3 separate regions of the Homo sapiens genome follow, and regions 2 and 3 are each linked to region 1. Evidence: promoter capture Hi-C in 16 types of primary human blood cells and fetal thymus (Javierre and others, 2016). All regions are on one chromosome and are shown on one strand. The core of a region is centred on a gene start or on the middle of the fragment in contact, and the rest is flanking DNA. Distances in the headings are between cores, read along the strand shown.

Region 1 (4,410 bases), core at 799-3,298:
AGGCAGAAATGCCCTCCCCAAGAGGTCCACACCCTAATCCCCTCAAACCCCTAACGTGTTAAGAGAGTAAAAAGACAAATCACAGACTGTGAAAAATGCATGCAAATCACATATCTGATAAAGGATTTTTCTCCAGAATGTATAAAGAACTCAAAACTCAAAAACAGCCCGGCCAAGTTCTCACGCAAGTATAAAGGCCTCAGGAAAACATCTTTAAACATACAAAAATCCAAGAATTAAAGTGCCTTAAAAATTTAAAACTGACCTTAAGCCCAGCCAATAAAGATGTAAATCAAAACAAAATAAAACAAAAAACCCCTCAACAACAGGAAAATAAAATACAAACAAAAAAATGGGCAAAAGTTTTAAATAGACACTTCACCAGAGAAGATACATGGATGGCAAATAAGTACAGGAAAATATGTTCAAAATAATTAGTCATGGAAAAATGAAAATTATAGCTGCAGAAGATATTACTACCCAAGTCTTGGCAAAGATGTGGAGCAACTGGAACTCTGGTGGGAATGCAAAATGGTGTCACCACTTTGGAAAACAGTTTGTCAGTCTGCCAAAAAGTTAAACGTGTTTTTACCGTACAATCTAGCCATTCTACTCCTAGGTATGTACCCAAGAGAAATGAAAGCATTAAGGTCTACACACCTATGCAAAGACTTGCAAATGAATGTCCATAGCAGCTTTATTTGTAACATCCCAAAACTGGAAGCAATCCAAATGTCCATCAACAGATGAATGGATAAACAAACTGTGGGATGGCCATACAATGGAATAGCTATCCAGCATCAAAAATAAATGAATTATTGATAACACAACAACAGATGGACTTCAAAATAGTCTATGTGAAAGAAGCCAGGCAAAAAAAGGGGGTACACACTATATGATTCAATTTATATAAAATTCAAGGAAATGAAACTAATGTTGAGTGACAGAAGGTGGATCAGTGCCTGGGAAATGGGGTCTGGGAGAGGCAGGAGGGAGAGATTACACAGGAGCTGGAGGAACCTTTTCAGGGCAATGGAGCTTTACTATCTTGATTGTGACAGTGGTTTATGGGTGTATTCATATGTCCAAAGTTATCAAATCCACTGCTTTAAATGTGTGGTTTATTGTATGCCATTTATATCTCGAAAAAGCTGTTTTTAAAATACAGTAAGAGAATTTTTCATATTTAAAAGGCAGGATATTTAAACTATATTAAATATATAAAAGACAGTGGTACTAACAGGTTGTATTAGCAGGAGACAAGGGTAAGGTGGGGTTTCTTTGGCTGCCTTGCAAAGAAATGCTGAGTCAAGTAAGGGCCAGTGGGCAACGAGGGCGGAACCACTTGTCCCCTTGGTCACCTGAGGGATGTGGATGGGAGCTGGGTGGAAATGGGGGGTGAGAGGAACGCCGCCCCCAAAGAAGAGTCGGGGCAGGGGCGCCCAACGCTGGGGCCCAGGCAGGTTCTTCGTCCTCACTTCCTGACCCTTTCTCAAGAGTCTAGGGACCAAATGGATCCATCCTTGGAGCCTGCTTTCTACTTCTGAACACAATGAGCAGTTTGTGTTTGAGGGTTTGGGGAGGGGGTGTTGTTTTTTCTTTATGTTTTGTTTTTTGTTTTGTGTATGAGTTGGGTGGCATAACCCACACGTAAGCTGCGACGTCCAATCAAGAACGAAAATGACCCCTCACAATCAGTGATCGGGAACCACCTGCCACAATCACTAGGGAAGTGACACAGCCGGGAAACTCCGCCCCTCACACCCCCGCGCGCTCGCGCCGGCCGCAGCCCCACAGCTCGCCCCGGCCGCAGCCCCACAGCTCGCCCCGCCTCTCTCCTTCCGGAAACAATCCCCGCGCGGGCGGAAGGCGGGGTCGGCCCTGGCCCCGCCCACATCATTTCCCTTCCTCGGCCCAGCCCCACAGCGCGCAGCTTCGGCAGGGTGGCTTTACGGCCGGAGGAGAGGGTGGGTCCCAGACCTGAGGTAGGAGGCCGAGCTGAGGGGCGGGGAAGAGGCTTTTTGCGGCAGGACGTAAGTGACGGCGAAGGCGGTGCGACAGCAGCTGGAGGGCAGAGGAGGCGGGTTTGTGTTTCCCGGGCCGAACCGGGTTGTGGGGGGCGCGGGGCCTGGGCCAGGCGGCAGCTAAGGCCCGCGGTGACAGCATGGGTGAAGGGGAGCGGGGCAGAGGAGGCCTTGGGCTGTTTTCGGCGGCGGGTGGGGGCGAGGGGCTGGCGGGTCAGAGTCCCGGGTCCAGGCCGGGGCTCTGACTCGCGGTTGGTGTTCCCCCGACCCCGCAGCGCGGGGTGTCCTGTCCTCGCCATGAGGCCGCAGCAGGCGCCGGTGTCCGGAAAGGTGTTCATTCAGCGAGACTACAGCAGTGGCACACGCTGCCAGTTCCAGACCAAGTTCCCTGCGGAGCTGGAGAACCGGGTACGCAACCTGGCTCCCCACGCCTGCTCTGGCGAGGGAGAGAGACTCACCGGGGACGGGAAGGGTGTGGGCGACAACCGGGCCTTTGAGGGTCCCGCAGTTCTGGGGAGGTCCAGGCACAGAAGGGGCCTTGGCCAAACGTGTAAGAAGAGAGCCACTAAGCAAGACAGGTGTTTGGAGCAGGAAGAATAATATAGGCCGATCGCCGGGGTTGACGACCTTATGGAACTTTGTTGCCCGGTGCCGGGAATCTGGATCCAGCAGTGTTCCCCTGCTGCACTCCCCCAAATCCCCACCCCGGGTTATTGTCGGCAGCGATGAGGAGCCAATTCCTGAGGCTCCAGGTCGTCTCAGTCACCAGGTTGTAAACTATATCCTCCTACCTCTCCGCGCAAGATAAATCATCATCATTCTCGTGACTGGTGTTTGCTGCCTCTGTGCTGGCCGCACTGTTTGGCTGAAAGGGTTTATTAGGTGCATGGCCAGGCGGTGCGTTCAGGCTTTCTTGGAACCTTAAAGACGTCGGGCGTTAGATAGGCCTGGACAGGAAAATGTCTCAGAACAAGGCCTTAAACTTGTCACATTCACTGGGAGCCACCTGTTTTGTCTTGCATATCAAAATGGTCATCAGGATATAGGTCCTTTGGGCAACATTGCAGGCAAAAATGGAAGAATGGGATTTGCTTCCCCTTCAGACCTAGCAAAACTTTAAAAAAAAAAAAAAAATCATTGTATCTTGTTGTAGAGGTAATGGAGTGTGTGCGTGCCTGCCTGTGTTTTTGTGTGCCCACATATGTACATTCAACCAAAGATTCTTTTGGTCTTGACCCATGTTATGTAGATTGTGTTTCCCGTTCAGGGATCAATTTCTGGTTAGCTGGAAGCAGGTTTTGTGGCTCTCTCCTCTGTGACAGGGAGGACGAGGGCCTGAGAGGTGATTAGGCATTCCTTGGGTGTGGGACTGAGAGATGCTGGTCATGGGATAAGTGGGTGTGGATGAGTCTGTGTAGAGAAATGTGTAGCAGTTATTTACAGTCAGTTTGCAGTGAGGTGGGTTGCACTGCCCGATTTCCATGGTTGGGAAATCAACAATGATCCATTATAGTTTCCTTCAGTTTGACATAACCATGGGCAGCTTCATGGCCCAAATATGTTTCTTGAATTGCAAATGGATCAAATATGCCTTTAAAAGATGGTGAGGTGACTTGTTTCTGAAATGCCATTTAAATGCTGCAGTATGTTGTCAACTATGTTATGAGTTAACTGAGCGTGACAATAGGTGGAACTATCTACAGTGGTTTGAAGAGGTAGAAATTCAGCAAGTGGCCAGTTGGGTAGAGCTACTGAATGTTGTTTTAAAATAATTTAACATCACAATTGATGTGTTTTACATGTTAAGATTGACATGGAATCTGGCTGGGCCCGGTGGCTCACGCCTGTAATCCCAGCACTCTGGGAGGCCGTGGCGGGTGCATCACTTGAGGTCGGGAATTCAAGACCAGCTTGGCCAACATGGTGAAACCCCATCTCTACTAAAAATACAAAAATTAGTCAGGCATGGTGGCGGGCACCTGTAATCCCCGCTACTCAGGAGGCTGAAGTAGAAGAATTTCTTGAACCTGGGAGGCGGAGGTTGCAGTGAGCCGAGATCATGCCATTGTACTCCAGCCTGGGCGACAGAGCAAGACTCTTGTCTCAAAAAATAAATCAAATAAAAAGATATACATGGAATCAATCAAATGTTTTATTTTTAAGCCTCTTACGGAAACTATGACATACAATTTATGTACTTCAAAATCAGAATATAAAGTATTCTTTTTTTACCACAATTATTTGGACATTAAAGATTCCTTTGCTTTAAGGTTTTAAAGCAACACTTACACCTCATATATTTGAGCTAAATGTGTATACACAGAATCAGACATTAGCCTTCCACTCTGTGTGTGGCAGAGCCTTTATTTTGTAATCTAAGTGCAAA
Region 2 (4,410 bases), core at 1,411-3,910, 2.6 Mb before region 1:
TGAGCTCCCCCACCGTCCCCCCCCACCCCCCATCCCCCATTCAGAGACACATTTCCCTCTTTTTTATTTATTTTTTTTCTGAGACAGGTTCTCACTCTGTCACTCAGGTTGGAATGCAGTGGCATGATAATGGCTCACTGCAGCCTCAAAATCCTGGGTTCAAGTGACCCTCCCATTTCAACCTTTAGAGTAGCTGGGACCACAGGTGCATACCTGGCTAATTTAATATTTTTTATTTTTTGTAGAGATGAAGTTTCCCTAGTTGTCCAGGCTGGTCTTGAACTCCTGGACTCAAGGGATCCTCCTGCCTTGGTTTTCCAAAGTGCTGGGATTACAGGTCGTGAGCCACTGCCCCTGGCTATATCTTGTCCTTCTAAAAGTTGACAGCACTTACTCTCTGTGCCATTCCCAGGGCACAAGCCTGCTTCAGCCTTCTAGAGACACCTGTATTCTCTTGCCACCCAAGGCCTTCTGCTTCTCTTTGCCTCCCAGCATCCAAAACAGTAGTGCTCAGGAAATACTTGTGGCTCTGTGATGGAGTGACTCAGGCAGCCCCACGGGGAGTAGAGTTTTATGAGTTTAATATGAACCATACCCTGAAATCTGAGAAATTTACCTCATTGCTCATGCTGGAAACCCTCAGTTCCAGTCGGATTTGCTTGGAGCTGGATGGAATTGTGTTGCTTTTCATACTGAAAATGATCATCTAATTTTTAAATTTAAAAAACATTTACGTAGCACCTACTTCACGTTCGACAGGAATCTCAACACTTCACAAATGTTAACTCACTGACTTTTCCTAACAGAGGCATTGAGAAGTTAAGTAACTTGCCCAGGGGTCAAAGCCAGTAAACGGCAGAGCTGGGCTTCAAATCCAGGTTCCTTGCTTCCAGAGGAGATGCTCTTCAGTTTGTTCTGGTGCCTGAAACTTACAGATGAGTGGCAAAACCCTCCATGAACGGGGAAAAAAAAGACATTGATGTATTTATTTCAAGGGAAATGTGTGTGTGTGTGTGTGTGTGTGTGTGTGTGTGTGTGTGTGTGTGTGTTTTGCCCATCGTCCCCCTTTTCTTCCTCATTGAAAGCAAAATGCTCTAAAGCAAACAGTCTTTTTTCACACCTGAGACACCGGCGGTGTTCATTTTTGCTTTGGCAATCAAAATGGAAGAGGAAACTTGTGTGGTTTCATCACTGGTGCTTTCGGGGTGTGTGGGGCGGGCTGTCCTTCTCCCTCGGTCCTGGCTCATCGGCCCGAGCCCCCCTCCCCAGGCCTTGTGGCCTCCGGTCGGTCGTGGAGACATAAGAGGCCGCCTTTCCTCTGTTAACACCGGGAATGTGCCCCAGCCTCTCCCTCCTTCCTGCAAATCCAGTCCTTGTCCTGGAGAACCTCAGCGTCTTCTTATGCCTGCCTCTTTCAAAGCCTCGTAGGATTTACACCTGATTAACAACGTTTGCATTAGGATCGCCAGACACCGGCGCACGGCCCCGCAGGCCCGCGCGAATCTTCTACATTTTCATGTTTCGGATGTTGTCCACCTGACTTGATGCATATTCAAATGTCTCTCTCCCGACGTGGGAGGCCGGAGTCAGAACCTGACAGACCTGCCGTTTACTAACTGGGTACCCAGGGCAAATTACTTCACAAGTCTGAGTCTCGGTTTCCTCACCGTGAACCGGACTGGTACCCATAGGTTGCGGCGTGGATCAAATGAGATAGCGCAGGGGCGGGACCCGCGCACAGCAGCTCTCTTAGTTCCTCTTGGCGAGGTTTACGTAGTAACACATGCTTGTCTGTTTCCCATTTTTTCCCAGAGCACCCTCATGCTCTGGGGGCAGGAAGGGAGTCTTCGCATCACACCGAAAAAGTCCCAACGGGCACGGTGTAGGCGCCTGTGGTCCCAGCTACTCGGGAGGCTGGGGCAGAAGGATCGCTGGACCCAGGAGGTCGAGGCTGCAGTGAGCTATGACTGCGCCACCGCACTCCAGCCTGGGCGACAGAGCCAGACCCTGTCTTGATTAAAAAATAAAATAAAATAAAGAAATTAAAGTCCTTATAACCCTGGTTAGAGCGTTCCCGCCCACTGGTCTCTTAGGGCACATTTAGGACAACCTGAAGAAGCCACTCTTCTTGGGACCCTAACCCTTACCCCAACTCCTCGGTCCCCAAAGGCTAAGGGCTCGGGATCCGAAGGAGGCCCAGCTGAGGTCGCTGGGTGGGGCTCTGGGAGGAGGAAATGGGGTTCTTGAGGGAGCTCGCGCTCCAGCTCGCCTCCTCCTGCGAGGACGCCCCCTGCCCGGACACCTGCTGCCCGAGCGAGCGTCGGGGCCGGGCCTCCCCGCGGGGCAGTCTCGGCGCGCAGGTCCCACCTGCCAGGCGCGGAACGCGGGCGGCCTCGGGCGCAGCCTCCGGGCGCCCCGCCCCCGCCTCCCCCGCGCGGCCCCGGCGCCCGGCCGCACCCCCTCCCAGCCCGCGGCGCCCCGGCACCCCTCTCCCTCCCCGGCGGGCTCCGCGGAGCATTGTACTCACATCCGGGGCTGGGTTTTGCTTTAATGCGAAACGTAATTAACCCGGAAAAAAGAGCCGAGGGACGGGAGAGAAGGAGGGGGCACTGGGGGAGACCAGAGCGAGGGGAGCGAGAGGCGCGGAGAGTTTGGCAGGCAGACCCAGAAATCCCTGGAGCGCGGCGGACCCGGCGGCCGGAGGGGCGACCCCGCCCGATGTAACGCGCCCCGCCCGAGCCCCGGCCCCTGCACGGGGGGGTAAGTTGGGCGCCCTCGCGGGCTCGGGAGTGGAGAGGCGCAGAGGGGCGCGCGGGGGCTGGCGGGGCTGGGGGTGCAGGGGGCGCCCCGGCGGAGGCCTGGCGGCCTAGGGGCGCGAGGGGCGCGCGCGCAGGGCTGAATACGCCGGTCCTAGTGGCTGACAGGCGAGGGGAGGTGGCCGCAGACCCTGGAGGCCTCCTCCAACCCTCTGGGAGAGCCCCGAGGGCAGCCCCTCCTCCAAGTGCCCCGGGTGGCCAAGGTCGCCGCCGCCAGGGGTCGGGCTGCGGGGGGTGGGGCCGCGGAGAGGGTGGGGGCGGGAGTTCTGCTGAGCTGCATTTTCTCACGTTTGCAGCAGCGAAACTTCTCTGCGGGTTCTGGCGCTGGGGCACCGACCCCGCAACGACTGCCCGGGCTGCGGGAGGGGAGGAGAGCAGAGAACGTCCCCAGGCAAGTCCCTTGGGTACGGATTGGGCCATGGAGACTCCTCTTTCACTCCCCCGACTACCTTATTAAATGACAGGCCTAGAAGGCTCCCCTAGGGACTCCTGTCCTTTCCTCTGGGTGCAGCCTGGACTTCGGGCTTCTGGAACTCCAGACAGTGAAAAGGACTGCCCTAAAATGCAGGTTCGGTGCCAGGTTGGGTGAGCCCTCGAGGGGAGCTGTCGTTCTCTCTCTCACCAACTTCTTCCTCACCTTACACGCTTCCCTTTTCTCCTCCAGTCCTAAAGACGATTTCACCAAAATTTTTTTAAAAAGAAAGAGAAAAGAAGGGTGTGGGGGGGGGTGGTGGGAAGCTAGGCCGTTTAGAAGGGAAAAGTGTCCCTGCACGCCCAGAGAGGGGCGCAGGGCCCGCTGCGGCCGGAGCACCCTCACATCTCCTCCCCGGGGCCAGCCCTGCCCCCAGGCCCTAGCCTTAGGGTTTGGCTTCCTTCCTTCTTGGTGAACGCAGGTTCAGGATGTATCTTCCCCTTCTCATTCCTTCTTCCTGCCCGCCCCCTTTCTTTCTTTAGGGCTCCAAGTGGGGTTTTCAGAGGACAGTAAACGGCAGAGAAGAGGGAGGGGAGAGCACCCCACCAGAAAGCCAGCTGTGGCTCTGGGGGCTCTGAAGGCTGAGCTGTAGATGCACTTGGGGCTGAAGTCCCAAGATTGCACTAATGGTGTTCTTAATCTATCTGACCAAGTCCCATTTTCCCTTCTTTTGTCATTTTTTTTCTTTGGTTGCGAAGCCTTCCGAAACAGCAAAGCAAAAGATCTTGAAAGAATAGAAGTTTTTGCTTTCTATTTCAGTTGCATTCAGTTGACATGTATTATACATGCAAGGCAGTGATGAACAAAACACAACCCCTGTCTTTATTTTTTCTTTTTCCTTTACCTCTGGAGGGCTGGACCCTGTCTTTGGCGAGCTTACAGGACTTGTAAGCCCCCCACTTGTTTTGAGAAGCCAGAGTAAGCTTTTAGAAAGCATCATCATCATCTCAGACATTAGCCCTCTTCACCATGTGCCGCCTGAAGGCAGATGACTTTTGCACTATCAGAGGTCTAGCTTGTAGTCTAGATTATGGCCAGCCCAACGTATGACATGTACCAGGTGCTAAGTAAATGTTTATTGCATTAATGAATGAATGCAAACACATGAATTGTTTGCACTTG
Region 3 (4,410 bases), core at 1,185-3,684, 2.5 Mb before region 1:
AAAAAAAAAAAAACCAGTTATATCACGTGGTTTGTATTGGAGATGTGCCAAACATGGCAAGAAGTTTTTGGATCTTTTTCTTACAAAGAAAAATGGATGGTTATCAACCCAAATGCCCATCAATGACAGACTGGATAAAGCAAATGTGGTACATATACACCATGGAATACTATGCAGCCATAAAAAGCAACAGTCCTCTGCAGGGACATGGATGGAGCTGGAAACCATTATCCTCAGCAAACTAACGCAGGAACAGAAAACCAAATACTGCATGTTCTCACTTATAAGTGGGAGCTGAACAATGAGAACACATGAACATAGGGAGGGGAACAACACACACTGGGGCCTGGCAGTGGGTAGGGTAGAGGGAGGGAGAGCATTAGCAAAAATAGCTAATGCATGCTGGGCTTAACACCCAGGTGATGGGTTGATTGATAGGTGCAGCAAACCATCATGGCACACATTTACCTATGAAACAAACCTGCACATCCTGCATATGTACCTCAGAACTTAAAAATAAAAATAAAAAGAAAAATGGTAATGTTGTGAGATTACAATTAAAAAATAAGAAAAATGGAGTTTGAAACACATATACACATTCAGGGATCATTAGGTTGGGGTACTATACTGTTGCTAAGATGCCTGACTATGTCAAGTGGAAGAAGAACACAGTGCCAGGAAATCTGGGGGAACTGATAACATTTTATTAAAGGCAAGAAACAACTAAAAGGCAGGCAGCTTCTAATTTAACCTTGAGGGAAGGACACTGTAGTATTTTAAACCTTCTCTATAGCCATAAACTAGATATAACACACACATATACAAATGGATCTGTCTACCAAAATTTAAGAAACAACCTGAATAAAGTGCAAAGGCAATCAATTGTTAAATAGTACTCCTTTAGTCCATCAGGTTTTCAGGTTGTATCACATTTGGCCAGGTTTGTGGGCAGATGGATGATGGGTGTCATTTACAAGTCAAATGAAAACCAGTAATTTTGGATTGTCACATAGGAATACTGATGATTCTCAAATTACCACTCTAGCAGCGAGAACAACTTCTTTTGTCTCCAGCAGCTTTACTGACAGTAAGAAGGGCATCTTCAGTAGTTTCTAGTCTTTTAGCCCTTCAACCAAGCTCTTACCCCTGGCAACATAAATGACTTCAAGCCTTGGAGCTGCAAAATTTCTTTTTTGGTCAGAGTCTCACTCTGTTGCCCAGGCTGAAGTGCAGTGGCAGGATCTCGGCTCACTGCAATCTCTGCCTCCTCAGTTCAAGTGATTCTCTTACCTCAGCCTCCCGAGTAGCTGGGATTACAGGTGCACGCCACCACGCCCGGCTAATTTTTGCATTTTTACTAGAGACTGGGCGGGGGTGGGGGAGTGTGTCTCACCATGTTGGCCAGGCTGGTCTCGAACTCCTGACCTTAAAGGATTCACCTGCCTCGGCCTCCCAAAGTGCAGGGATTACAGGCTTGCACCATTGCGCTGGCCCTAAAGTTTCTTATTTTTTAAAGAAAACAACTTTTGGTAGGGTTATGAATATACTTAGGAGGTTAAAGTGTGAAATGAGGCAGGACTTGGTTAGGTGAAAAGTAGCATCTTATTTTGGGTAATATTATAATTTATGTTTTTTAGACTTCCCTTAGAAATTTTTTTAAAATATACATATGGCATCCTTGAACTCCCTTAAACTCTTTTATTTGTATAAATTTATAGGGTACCAGTACAATTTTATTTCATGCATAAATTGTGTAGATGAACCCAAGTTCTATGTAAATTCTGTGTATGTAGATTTTTCTGGGGAGAGGGTCTAGTTTCTTCATGACCCATAAAAATTTAATAAATACTATCTTAGGGTATAAAGATTATGAATTAAAAGTTTACCAATTGTTATGTTATAAGCAAGGTTAAGGTCAGTGTGGTACAGAACTTTCAAGACAGAATAGGATCATCTGTTTTAAATTTTTTACAGAAAATTGCCACCTTTAATAATGTAAAAACAGTGATTAATCAGGAATGATAAAGCAAGAAATTCTTAGGAAAGCTACAAAATGATAGAATGTATCCAGGGAAGTTATTTCAACTGTGATATTTGGTCTTAAATTCAATTATTATTAGGTAAACTGAGTGAGTTCTACCTTGTTTCTAGAATTTGTAAGTTATTCTGAGTAAAGCCTCTTCCATTGACTTGGCCACATTGCCCACCTTTGATTTTATATTTAATAGTTCTTTCAACTTAGATTGCAAACGATGAGAACTGAGTTTTTAAAACCACTTACAATCTGGAACATTTCCTTTTATTCCTGGTGACCGGGGAATGCAGAGGTGTGGCTGTTATCTCTTTCTGACTGCTGCAGCCCACAGGGAGAGCTAATCATGAAGAATAGTTTTACAGAAACTTGTATGAAATCTTAATTTTATTAGCATGGGCTGGTAAACGCTGATTTTTAGATTGGACAATTCTGCCAGGAGGAATAGCTCAACTCACACATCTGATGCCGCTGGCTTTCAAAACATAAGTGGAATGAAAAAATTATTGCACTGCATATACTGCCTCTGGAACATAATGGAGACAAAAGAGGGCTTAATAGGATGGCTCATTTCAAATGACTAGGTTTCTGCAAAACAAATATAATTTTGAGTTTATTCCCCCTACTGAAAATACTCATACAGTACTCCAAGTTGGTAAAATTTATTCTACATTTAAATTCAGAAAGTCAGAATTTCAGTGTGTATTACAATCCACGGCCATTTCTATTTCTGCTGAAGATTTTCATTGTTCAGCTTCAGATCTCCTTGCATGAAGACTCAGGGTCACAAGAGGAACATGGATCCAAATATTCATTTTGCTCAACTTGTTAGGTCCACTTGCTCCAAAGGACTGAAGATATAGCAATGTACAGAAAGGAAGACTATGGAAACCCATCCACAGCTTGTAAACTCGCCACTATCCTTTATGTTTTGTGCATGAGGAAAGGAACAAATTTGATTCCCCACAACACTTTTTGCTTGTCATTCCGTCTGCAAGGTAAAATCTGGGTTGAAATTCCAAAGTCCAAAGAAGCCTTCTTAACCAAACAAATGCCCTCCAAAAGAAGGAAAATAACATCAGGTCTGATATCAAAGAGGAGTTTTGAGCCTGTAGAGATGAATTCAGAAGACGGAGCTTTCACCCGCCTCCCTGGGCCATGATGGCAGCTCTTCTTAGTAAACAGTGCACCAGTTGCTGCCATCACTTGGCATCAGCCCTCCAGTAATTAGCAAAATAAGGTCAACAAACCACCAAATCCCAAGTCCTCCAAGCGTCAACAGCTTCCCTACTGCAGTGCCAGTGTGTCCCAAACAGAATCGATCCACACCAAAACATCCCAGGAAGAAGGAGTAGAGTAAAGTGGTTATGAAGTAGTGTCCGGTATACCTAGGTGAAAGGAATGAAAAGGAAGATGTTTTACTGCACGAAAATTTAAACCCTTAAGGATTAGTGAATTTAACGTAAGTGATGAGACAGTGCAGTGGACCCTCTGTGGCCTTTTACCCTCCATTTTGTTTTCTTTTATGATATGGTCAGTGAGGTGAGAGGATCAGGAAAAACCAAAGTTTATTATACTCATAGGTCCCAGAGACAGGAGGCACATCATGTTATACAAGGCTACCTGGCAAAGATACCAGGGTGGTTGGAAGATAGAAGGGAGGGGAAGGTTTTTGGCCACTATCTTCATTGGGGTTTCTGCAGGAAAGGCAAGACAGGGCAGGGCGAATAGTTTAGAACTGGCTAGTTTGAATAACCTCAGCAGGCTCTAAGCTATAGGAGTGGTCCCTGGTTGCCTGGCACTTGGACCTGAGAAGACTAAGGCAGAGGAATATTATTTCCTGGGGTGTACAGGCCAGAAACAGAAGATATGTCTCTAGACTAGTTTGCATATCAAAGGCATGCTGCTGGTTGGGCCCTTTGCTATCTCTAAGAAATGACTAGCTTCAGGAAGAGCAGTCTCTTCACAGCCAGAAAGGTTTTTAAGATGTCAAACATCATAATGTACAATAATTTAAAAAACTTTTTGACCATGGTGGTGGCTGATGCCTATAATCCCGGCACTTTGGGAGGCCAAGATGAGAGGACCACTTGAGCCCAGGTGCTCCAGGCCAACCTAGGCAACATAGCGAGACCCTGTTTCTACCAAAAAAAAAAAAAAAAAAAAAAAAAAAGGCCAGGTGTGGTGGAGCACACCTGTAGTCCTAGTTACTCGGGAGGCTGAGGTAGGAGGATCGCTTGAGCCCAGGAGGTCGAGGCTGCAGTGAGCCCTGTTTGTCTGTTTGTGCCATTACACTCCAGCCTGGGCAATGGAACAAGACCCCATCTCCAAAAAAAAAAAAATACGCATTTTTTTATAATACACCCTCTTCACCTTTA

The links. The method cuts DNA at HindIII sites, captures the fragments that hold promoters and counts their contacts. A CHiCAGO score of 5 or more calls a contact.
Region 2: the fragment with the promoter of PLEKHA2 here is called in contact with the fragment with the promoter of GOLGA7 in region 1 in 1 of 17 cell types (naive CD8 T cells); the score reaches 7.9 in naive CD8 T cells.
Region 3: a fragment that was not itself captured here is called in contact with the fragment with the promoter of GOLGA7 in region 1 in 1 of 17 cell types (neutrophils); the score reaches 5.2 in neutrophils.

What each region holds. Positions count from the first base shown.
Region 1 is chr8:41,488,534-41,492,943 of GRCh38, forward strand. GOLGA7 (golgin A7) reads left to right here and starts at 2,049. Exons shown (of 5, transcript NM_001002296.2): 1 at 2,049-2,432. The coding sequence starts at 2,322. RefSeq lists a silencer at 1,680-1,939 and enhancers at 1,990-2,119, 2,410-2,519, 2,570-2,679. The HindIII fragment of the contact is 7,658 bases long and covers 1-4,410 here.
Region 2 is chr8:38,898,686-38,903,095 of GRCh38, forward strand. It overlaps PLEKHA2 (pleckstrin homology domain containing A2), which reads left to right and starts at 2,661. Exons shown (of 12, transcript NM_021623.2): 1 at 2,661-2,760. LOC124901937 (a long non-coding RNA gene) reads right to left here and starts at 2,760. Exons shown (of 2, transcript XR_007060893.1): 1 at 2,528-2,760; 2 at 565-2,011. RefSeq lists enhancers at 1,073-1,262, 1,323-1,572 and silencers at 2,173-2,582, 2,663-3,332. The HindIII fragment of the contact is 6,068 bases long and covers 1-4,209 here.
Region 3 is chr8:38,988,126-38,992,535 of GRCh38, forward strand. TM2D2 (TM2 domain containing 2) reads right to left here. Exons shown (of 4, transcript NM_078473.3): 4 at 683-3,420. The coding sequence ends at 3,207. It overlaps HTRA4 (HtrA serine peptidase 4), which reads left to right. Exons shown (of 9, transcript NM_153692.4): 9 at 1-538. Among named protein-coding and RNA genes, the nearest start is that of TM2D2, 6.2 kb to the right of the region's middle. The HindIII fragment of the contact is 6,930 bases long and covers 1-4,410 here.